Regions from separate parts of the Homo sapiens genome. Here regions 1 and 2 are each linked to region 3. Evidence: promoter capture Hi-C in 16 types of primary human blood cells and fetal thymus (Javierre and others, 2016). All regions are on one chromosome and are shown on one strand. The core of a region is centred on a gene start or on the middle of the fragment in contact, and the rest is flanking DNA. Distances in the headings are between cores, read along the strand shown.

Region 1 (2,700 bases), core at 124-2,623, 620 kb after region 3:
CAAGTCCTCCGCACTGTTCTCACTACAACCCTCCTTCCTCTGTCCCCAGTCCTAGGGTTGACAGATAGTAAAAGTAATGGACAGCTGATGCTTATTGAGCGCTTCCCATGCACCAGGTCCTGTTCCAAGGGTGTGACATAGTCTAACTAGTTTAGTCCTCACCACAACCTTATGGGATACGTGTGAGATTTTTCTTCCAACACCAGGTGTATGGTATGTTCCAACCACCAGCAGGCAGTGCTCCAATTCTCCAGCATCACTGAGTATATTCAACAGTTCAATACTGACACTAATTCCCAGAGCTAGCACAGACCCTACAAGTTAAGGGCTCTGTCCCACAAGACAGTGCCACAGCAGACTCAAGTTCCAGGAGCCACCTGTGCTTCTGAATGGACTGGCCTAAAACCGGGGGCTCCCACATCGCCCTCTGCAGGTTTGACAATTCACTAGAATGACGCACACAACTCAGGAAACACCTCCCCTACACTTGCTGGTTTATTATAAATGACACGAGTGAGGAAGAGCCAGATGGAAGAGACACAAAGGGCAAGGTAAGGGGGAGGTGCGTGGAGCTCCCATGCCGTTTCCAGTGCCCCCATTCCCAGCACTTCCACGTGTTCGCCAACCAGAAGTTCTCCTGGTCTCCTTGTTCAAGACTAAATCCAGGCCGGCCTGGCACAGTGGCTCACGCCTGCAATCCCAGCACTTTGGGAGGCCAAGGAGGGAGGATTGCTCAGGAGTCCAGGAGTTCAAGACCAGCCTTGGCAGCAGAGGGAGACCTTATCTCTAAAAAAAGTTTTTTAAAACATTTTTTACAGTTTACACTGTAAACTGCAGGGTGTGGTGGCACACACCTGTAGTCCCAGCTACTTGGGAGGCTGAGGTGGGAGGATTGTTTGAGCCCAGGAGGTCAAGGCTACAGTGAGCCATGTTAGCTTCACTGCACTCCAGCCTGGATGACAGAGCAAGACTCTATCTCAAAAACAAACAAAAAAAGACTATAATCCAATCTCCATTCCCCTCCCCTCCCTAGAAGGAAAGAATGGGGGCGGCTGAAAGTTTCTACCCTCTAATCACAAGTATGGTCTTTCTAGAACCAGCCCCAGTCCTGAAACTACCTAGAGATCCACCCTGAATCACCTCATTAGCATACAACAGTAAGTCTTATTTATTTATTTATTTATTTATGTTTACTGTAGAGACGGGGTCTCGCTTTGTTTCCTAGGCTGGCCTGGAACTCCTGGTCTCAAGTAATCCTCCCTCCTCGGCCTTCCAAAGTGCTGGGATTATAGGTGTGAGCCACCATGCCCAGCCAATAAGAGTATATTGTTTCCACTTTAAATAGAAGGAAACTGAGGCATAGAAAAGTTAAATAGATAACTTGCTCAAGACTTGCAGCGGGTGCATTCATGGGTAATAGTACCCATGAAGATGGCTTTATGGGTACTATTATCCCCATTTAAGCAAACTGAGCCTCAGAGAGGTTAACTAACTTGTAGCTAGAATTCTGTGGCATTCTCAGTATGTTCACCCATAATTTTGTTCAAAAATATTATTGAATACCTACTATATAGCAGGTACTCTTCTAGGCACTTGGGCTTTGGCTTAGAACAAAACAGACCAGGCATCTGCCCTCGTGCAGCTAAGATCCACAGAGACAAAGACAAACCGCATTTCCAGGAGTGATGAGTGTTGTGAGGGAGCTCAAATGGGGTCATAGGAGAGAGACTAAAAGGAAGTGTTTTACTGGGGTGTTCAGGGAAGGCCTCTTTGAGAAGATGACGTTGAGCTTAGGCCTGAGTGGCAAGGGAGAAACAGCCAGATGAGGAGCCAGAAGGAGACGTCAAGGCAGACGGTAACTATGAAGACGTGAGGGGCAGGAATTGGCATAGAATGTTCTAGAAGTATCAGAAGGCCAGAGTGGCTGGAGCTACAGGGTAATTGGGTAAGTAGGTAGGGGAGGATCATGCGATGCTTAGAGACTATGGTAATACATTGAAGAGAAAGTGACAGGAGATGATTGGCATTTTACAGAGGTTCTCTGGCTGCCACTTGGGGAAGGGACCCACAGGGGAAAGGAGTGGACAGGTGTGGACAGGTAGGAACTACTGACATGGGTCCTGAACAGAGCAGTGGTGGAGGAGAGAAGCGTACTAATGTGAGAGGCACTCTAATTTAGTGCTGGAACATATTAGGACTTGCTCATGGATTATACGCCCAGGGCAAGGGAAAGGAAGTGGTTTGGGTAGAACAACTGGGAGAATGGTGACACCATATAATGAGTTGAGAAACTGGGGGAGAAGCAAGATGGTGGGAGCATAATCAAGAATTTTGTTTTGGATCAGTTAAGTTTGAGATCCCAGCGGAGATGTCAAGAAAGCATGTCAGATTTTGGGGGGAGGGCTGGTTTTTCTCTGGTTTAAGTTATCTGAGAGTCTCTGTCAGAGCTCTTTTGGGGGAAAAGATAAGAAATTCCTTCAAGTGCCCTCAGATAATGGATGGACTCCCCAGGGATTAAAAACAGAAGCCATAGCCTTGTTGAAATTCAATAACAGGAACCATGGTGTAGCCAGGAATTGGAAGAGACTGGAAGCCAAAGGCTCTTTTGGGCCCGAGGGATTCAGCACCAGCTACTCACAGAACTTCCTCCCAGTGCTCTGCTGAGTATGTGCTCCAACTGCTCTCCAAAATATCTGCTTC
Region 2 (2,700 bases), core at 162-2,661, 910 kb before region 3:
TGTTTCTGTTTTTATGTGGGTTTTTTTTTAATCTACTCTAAATTTAAACCTGCTCCTCATTTTCAGAAGCTGAAATGAGCATAAAGTTAAATACAGGAAATATATACACTAACGAGTACAATCCACCTCCTGTTCAGTTCCTTCGTGTAAAAGGCTGCAAATAAGAAGTCTCCCAGAGAGTTTTCAATTCTCTTACAATGGTACTTCCCTTTAAAAAAAAAAAAAAAAAGTGTACTTTCTTCCAGGGATAAAGTCGGTTGTAAATTTCAATAAGAAAGGTAAGAATACAATTATTTTTACTGGCAATAGCCAAATTAACACCAATTTTAGAAGATATCAGTCATGTCAGACACGATTCTCAAAGTCTCTTTCACTAACACTTAGGTCATAATAAACGACTCTCAAAACATGGAATAAAAGGGCCTAACCTTAATTTTTTAAGGCTCTAGGAAAGATATTTGCTCAACTTTCCATAGCTAGTATTTTTAATGGATGCACATGCAAGGGATAAATGATATTTTTCATAGTTGGTATTCTAAAGGGGTATACATCCAAGGTATAACTGATATTTTTCAGAGCTGGCATTTTTAATGGGTGCACACGCAAATGATAAATTATGTATAACCTATCGCCACAGACATTTGAAGGCCTCTTCCACCAGAGGATCAGGTCTAAGCCCATGAACCAAGTTATTGATTAGCAATGGTTTCTGTTGAGACAAGGGATGGCAGGAAGTATCACGTTTAATGGCACTACCGTGGCTCTAGCTAGGGTCTGTTTTCTATTGGGCCTCCCCAGAAACAAGTAAAATATTTTTTTAAAGATTTTTAGAAAAATGCAAGGTAAGTTCAAGAGACCTCGCCCGAGGTTCCACAGGTTTCCTCACTCACCTGGTGGGCCCTTTTGAAGGCAACCCCCTCCACACCTCAATTCCCTCAGCTCTCTCCTCCTTTTTCAATAAAGGCGTTTCTCTCCCCTTTCGGTTCCTTCTCCGCGCCAAGGCGCCCGCTAGCCCCCGGCAAAGGGGGCCCGCCTTCCTCTCAGGTGCCTTTCTCCCGGCCGCCACCCCCTCTCCCGCCCGTGGATGCCGGCCCCCGCCCCCGCAGCCACCACTGGGCGCCCCTTGCCCATCACCCAGACTTCGCACCCTCCACACTCCCGCTTCCGCCCGTCGCCTTGGGCCTTAGCGGCACCCGCACCGCACCCCAGCGCCACCCGGCAACACGCCCCCCGCTCCCGGCCCCCTTACCACACATGATGCCGGAGACACGGCCCGCGAGGCCAGGGGCGAGTGGCTGGCGGGATCGGGGGTGCACACACGAGCTTCGGTGGGCAATCTGCGGGCTCGGGGGCCGGGGTGGCGCCGACACGACTCCCTCGGGGATGCGACGGCCAAGGCAACGACAGCCTTCTCCGCCTCCCGGGCTCCGCCAGCAACCGCCGCCGGGCCCCGCCCCTCGGCGCGCAGCGCGCCGCCGCCCGTAGGCTCCATTGAACCGCTCACGCGCCGCTCACGCGCAAGTCCCGCCTCCCAGCGCTGCCCCGCCCCCCGAGCCCACGCAGGCGCTGGACTGCTGGCGGCGGCGACGTGGCAGTGGCTCGTGGCCGCGTCCGCCTGGAGTTCCTGGAGACGCCCGCCCCGGGGCGAGCCGCGGGAGGGACCGAGCCGAGAGGGAGGGAGAAACTCAGCACCTGGCAGGGAATGACGGAAAGAGAAGGATGGAATTGTTAGCAAAGCAATAGCCCGGGTGCGTGCCCCGTGCAGCCCCAGGCCCCAGGCGCCAGCACTGCACGAAGCGAGGAAAGAGGAGGAAAAAAGCAGGAAGTATGAAAAGGGAATCCTGGGGAACATAAGGCTGAAAAAAATTGCAAAGAATTAGGTTGAGGTGGGAGGAGAGAGATAACAAAATTCTTGACTGTAAAGCCCCAAAGGTCAGCCTCTCTGGTAATAAGCAATTCAATTCCTTGTGTAATATGCTTGGCCCCTAAAAGCCCTCCGCATCCGTTGCCTCCATAACCCTCAGTTTATTGTGGAGGGGTAGAGGAGGAATGTAAGGCTCAACTATCCGACTATGAGCCTGGACGTAAGAAACTGCTGGCCCACCTCCTCCCATGACCCACCTGAGACGGCTAGGAATTCCCTAGCTTTAACAGCCGCGCGTTTGACTTACGAACGATTCATTCTATGAATTAATGCGCCATGTCTGACAAGAGAGACTTGATTAGAGAGGGATGATGTTTCTGAGAATTTATTACCTGGGCATTTGCTTTAAACAGCCTTAAATGGTATCTTTAGTCAAATGTGGAGTAATCAGAACTCTATAATGGCTCTAGAGTAGAGTAGTATCAAAAACGTACATGGCACACAGAATTCCTGGAGTGCTGACTGCTGTTCATGTGTCTGGTCTTAGCCTGCTGACTGCTGTTCATGTGTCTGGTCTTAGCCGTCCTTCCAGCCCTATACACTCCCAACAGGCTCAACAGGTAGTTCCTCAACTGGGCCAAGATTCTCAAATCTTTTGCACACTTTGGTTACTCTGCATAGAATCCCCACCACGTCTCTGTTTAGATGCTACCTCTTCAGGAAAGCCTTTTTTATCCCCCCTAGACAGACTTGGAGACATGCATTAACCTCTTACTCTTTGAGCTACTCACTGTAAAGAAATATTCTTTGATATTTTATGATTTTCTGTATTTTCC
Region 3 (2,700 bases), core at 93-2,592:
TCACAACTGTTAACAGAACCAAGACACTAAAGCCAAGAGTTTTGAACAAATGCTTGTCATCTCCTGCAAAAGTCTGTATCAAGGACTACAGTGCTCTGTCTAGGATATTTCTCACCTGGAACTTCTCCAGCTCACTGGTGACCAAAGCCTGGGCTTGAGCCAGAGGCACATGGCAGCGCTCGATGCACTGGTGCACCTGCTTCATGGAGGCCTGGCTGTCCTCACAACAGCTGGCGCTGCACCGGAACATGAGACCCTGGGGAGAAAGGGCAGAGAGGTTAGGTAGGAAAGTCTCTGGGGACAGAGATGACTATGGAGCACTACAGGAGTTAGAAGGCCACGTGGATATTTGCACCTCTCTCTCCACCTTCTGCTTTCACCTTCCCTGAGAATAGACACCAGGACCTTAAAACCACCACTGGGGAAAATTATCCTCAATGTCTAGTGTAGTGTTTCATGGTGTCCTTGCTGCTAGCTCATCGGCACCTGTTGCACCGATGGTTGGGTGAACAGAGGTTCGCCCGAGTGGGTGAGGGTAGGGTGGTCTGACGAAGCCAAATTCTGAAAACCAGGAGCCTCTTCCATGGGGTTCAGAGGTCAGCAACCTAGCAATACAAATTCCACCAGAGGGCAGCCGACCCACTAATCAATGACTCAAGGGGCACTATCTGGGAAACGCATACTCCGTGAGAGAAGCAGGACCGAAACACACAGAGGCATTGCGGGGCTCAGAGAAGAACAGTGTAGAAACCCGCGCTGTGTGAAGCGAGGTTGGGCGCAAGAGAAGCAGGCATGACCTGGCCAACGGGGAGGCCGGAAGTCCTCGCCTTTCTGGTCTTTCACGTTGGCAGCGCCTCTGCTGGGCCTCGGGCCGCTCACCTGCGGAAGGGGCCGCGTAAGAGGGGAAGGTGGTGGGGCGAGCGCCTGCCACCAGGGGCTTCCCACCTGCCGCCGAGGACGCTCCTGCCCCGGGCTGGAAGGGGCGGAAAACAGCCTCGCGCACGGCAAGGGCACACGGATTTCATCCGATCCGCCAAAGCTTCCGAAGTCCTGTCCGAGGCCGCCCCGGCGACCCCAGGGCCGCCCACACCCGGTCTGCGGGGACGCGGCTGCAGTGCAAGGCGTCGCGTGGTGGCTGAGGGAAGGGCCCGGAACCCACCCGCTGAGAAGGGGGTCCTGGTTCGGCCCCAGCCCCGCTACCTGCATCTTCCGGATGTTCTCTCTTTCCAGACTCTTCACCATGGACTCCACCGCCTCCTGCACCCGGAGCTGCTGCAGCTCAGCCATGGCGACCCCGCGCTGCCCCGCGGCGCTCCGCGCCGGCGCCCATATGGAATCGGCGTACGGGCCCGCCCCCTCACCGCCCTTCGCCGCCCTTCGCCGCCTGCCCTTCCAGGGCCCACGCCCCCCCCTGGCGGCCGAACGGAGCCACTGCATGCTGGTGTCCGCGAGCCCACCGCCCTCCTCCCGCTTGGGAACCGGTCACTGGGACACCTGCCCTGCGGCTGCTGCCTGCCTTTCCTCCTCCCTCCCATGTCCCTCCCTTTACATTCTTTAAAATTATTTAATGTAATTTACATACAGATAAATGCCCAGATCTTAGGCGTGCTGCTTGATGAGTTTTAACAAACCCTGTCCGCCGGGCGCAGTGGCTTACGCCTGTAATCCCAGCACTTTGGGAGGCCGTGGGCAGGTGGATGACCTGAGCTCAGGAATTTGAGACCAGCCTGGCCAACCTGGCGAAACCCCGTCCCTACTAAAAATACAAAAATTAGCCGGGTGTGGTGGCACATGCCTGTAGTCCCAGCTATTTGGGAGGCTGAGGCAGGAGAATTGCTTGAACCCGGGAGGGAGAGGTTGCAGTGAGCCGAAATCACGCCATTGCACTCCAGCCTGGACGACAGAGTGAGACTCTGTCTCTAAACAACAATAAAAACCCAAACTCTGTCTTGTCCCAATCTCCGTCCTTTCTACCCCATCTCCCCACCCCTGCCCTAACTGGTCTGCTTCTGTCACTGTAGATTACATTTTCTCTTTCTAGAATGTCATATGTATGTTATTATCCAATAAGTACTCCTTTTCTGTCTGGCTTTTTTAGCATATTGCTGAAAAATACTTAGCCTAATGCTTTCGAGATTGAGCTGTGTTGTTGGTTCTTTTTTGCTGCTGAGTAGTATTCTATTGAATGGACATACCACATTTGTCGTTGTTGTTTTTTGAGACAGGGTCTTACTCTGTCACCCAGGCTGGAGTGCAGTGATGTGGTCTCGGCTCATGCAGCCTCCACCTCCCTGGTTCAAGTGATTCTCATGCCTCAGCCTCCCGAGTAGCTGGGATTACAGGCATGTGCCACCACGTCTGGCTAATTTTTTTTTTTTTTTTGTAGACACGGGGTTTCACCATGTTAGCCAAGCTGGTCTCCAACTCCTGAGCTCAAGGGATCCACACACCTCGGCCTCCCAAAGTGCTGAGATTGCAGGCATGAGGCATCGGTCCCGGCCCACATTTGTTGATCCATTCCCCTGCTGATGGGTGTTTGGGTCTTTTCCACTTAGTAGCTATTATGAATAAAGTGGTGACTATGAACATCCTTGACCATTTTTTTTTTCTTTTGGAGATGGGATCTTGCTATGTTGTCCAGGCTGGTCTCAAACTCCAGGCCTCAAGCTATCCTCCTGCCTCTGCCTATCAAAGGGATTA

The links. Contacts are between HindIII fragments. The CHiCAGO score rates a contact against its expected background, and 5 or more counts as called.
Region 1: a contact is called between a fragment that was not itself captured here and the fragment with the promoter of FAM136A in region 3, in 9 of 17 cell types (naive CD8 T cells, naive CD4 T cells, non-activated CD4 T cells and 6 more). The highest score is 8.5, in naive CD8 T cells.
Region 2: the fragment with the promoter of GFPT1 here is called in contact with the fragment with the promoter of FAM136A in region 3 in 6 of 17 cell types (total B cells, fetal thymus, non-activated CD4 T cells and 3 more); the score reaches 11.4 in total B cells.

The regions. Positions count from the first base shown.
Region 1 is chr2:70,923,182-70,925,881 of GRCh38, forward strand. All of the region lies in intron 2 of VAX2 (ventral anterior homeobox 2), which reads left to right. Among named protein-coding and RNA genes, the nearest start is that of ATP6V1B1, 11 kb to the right of the region's middle. The HindIII fragment of the contact is 8,926 bases long and covers 1-2,700 here.
Region 2 is chr2:69,385,816-69,388,515 of GRCh38, forward strand. It overlaps GFPT1 (glutamine--fructose-6-phosphate transaminase 1), which reads right to left and starts at 1,412. Exons shown (of 20, transcript NM_001244710.2): 1 at 1,250-1,412. The coding sequence starts at 1,256. RefSeq lists silencers at 992-1,661, 1,722-1,831 and an enhancer at 1,204-1,763. The HindIII fragment of the contact is 6,543 bases long and covers 1-2,700 here.
Region 3 is chr2:70,300,725-70,303,424 of GRCh38, forward strand. It overlaps FAM136A (family with sequence similarity 136 member A), which reads right to left and starts at 1,343. Exons shown (of 3, transcript NM_001329752.2): 1 at 880-1,343; 2 at 116-256. The coding sequence starts at 1,287. RefSeq lists enhancers at 1-628, 629-1,577 and a silencer at 1,263-1,532. The HindIII fragment of the contact is 2,364 bases long and covers 1,038-2,700 here.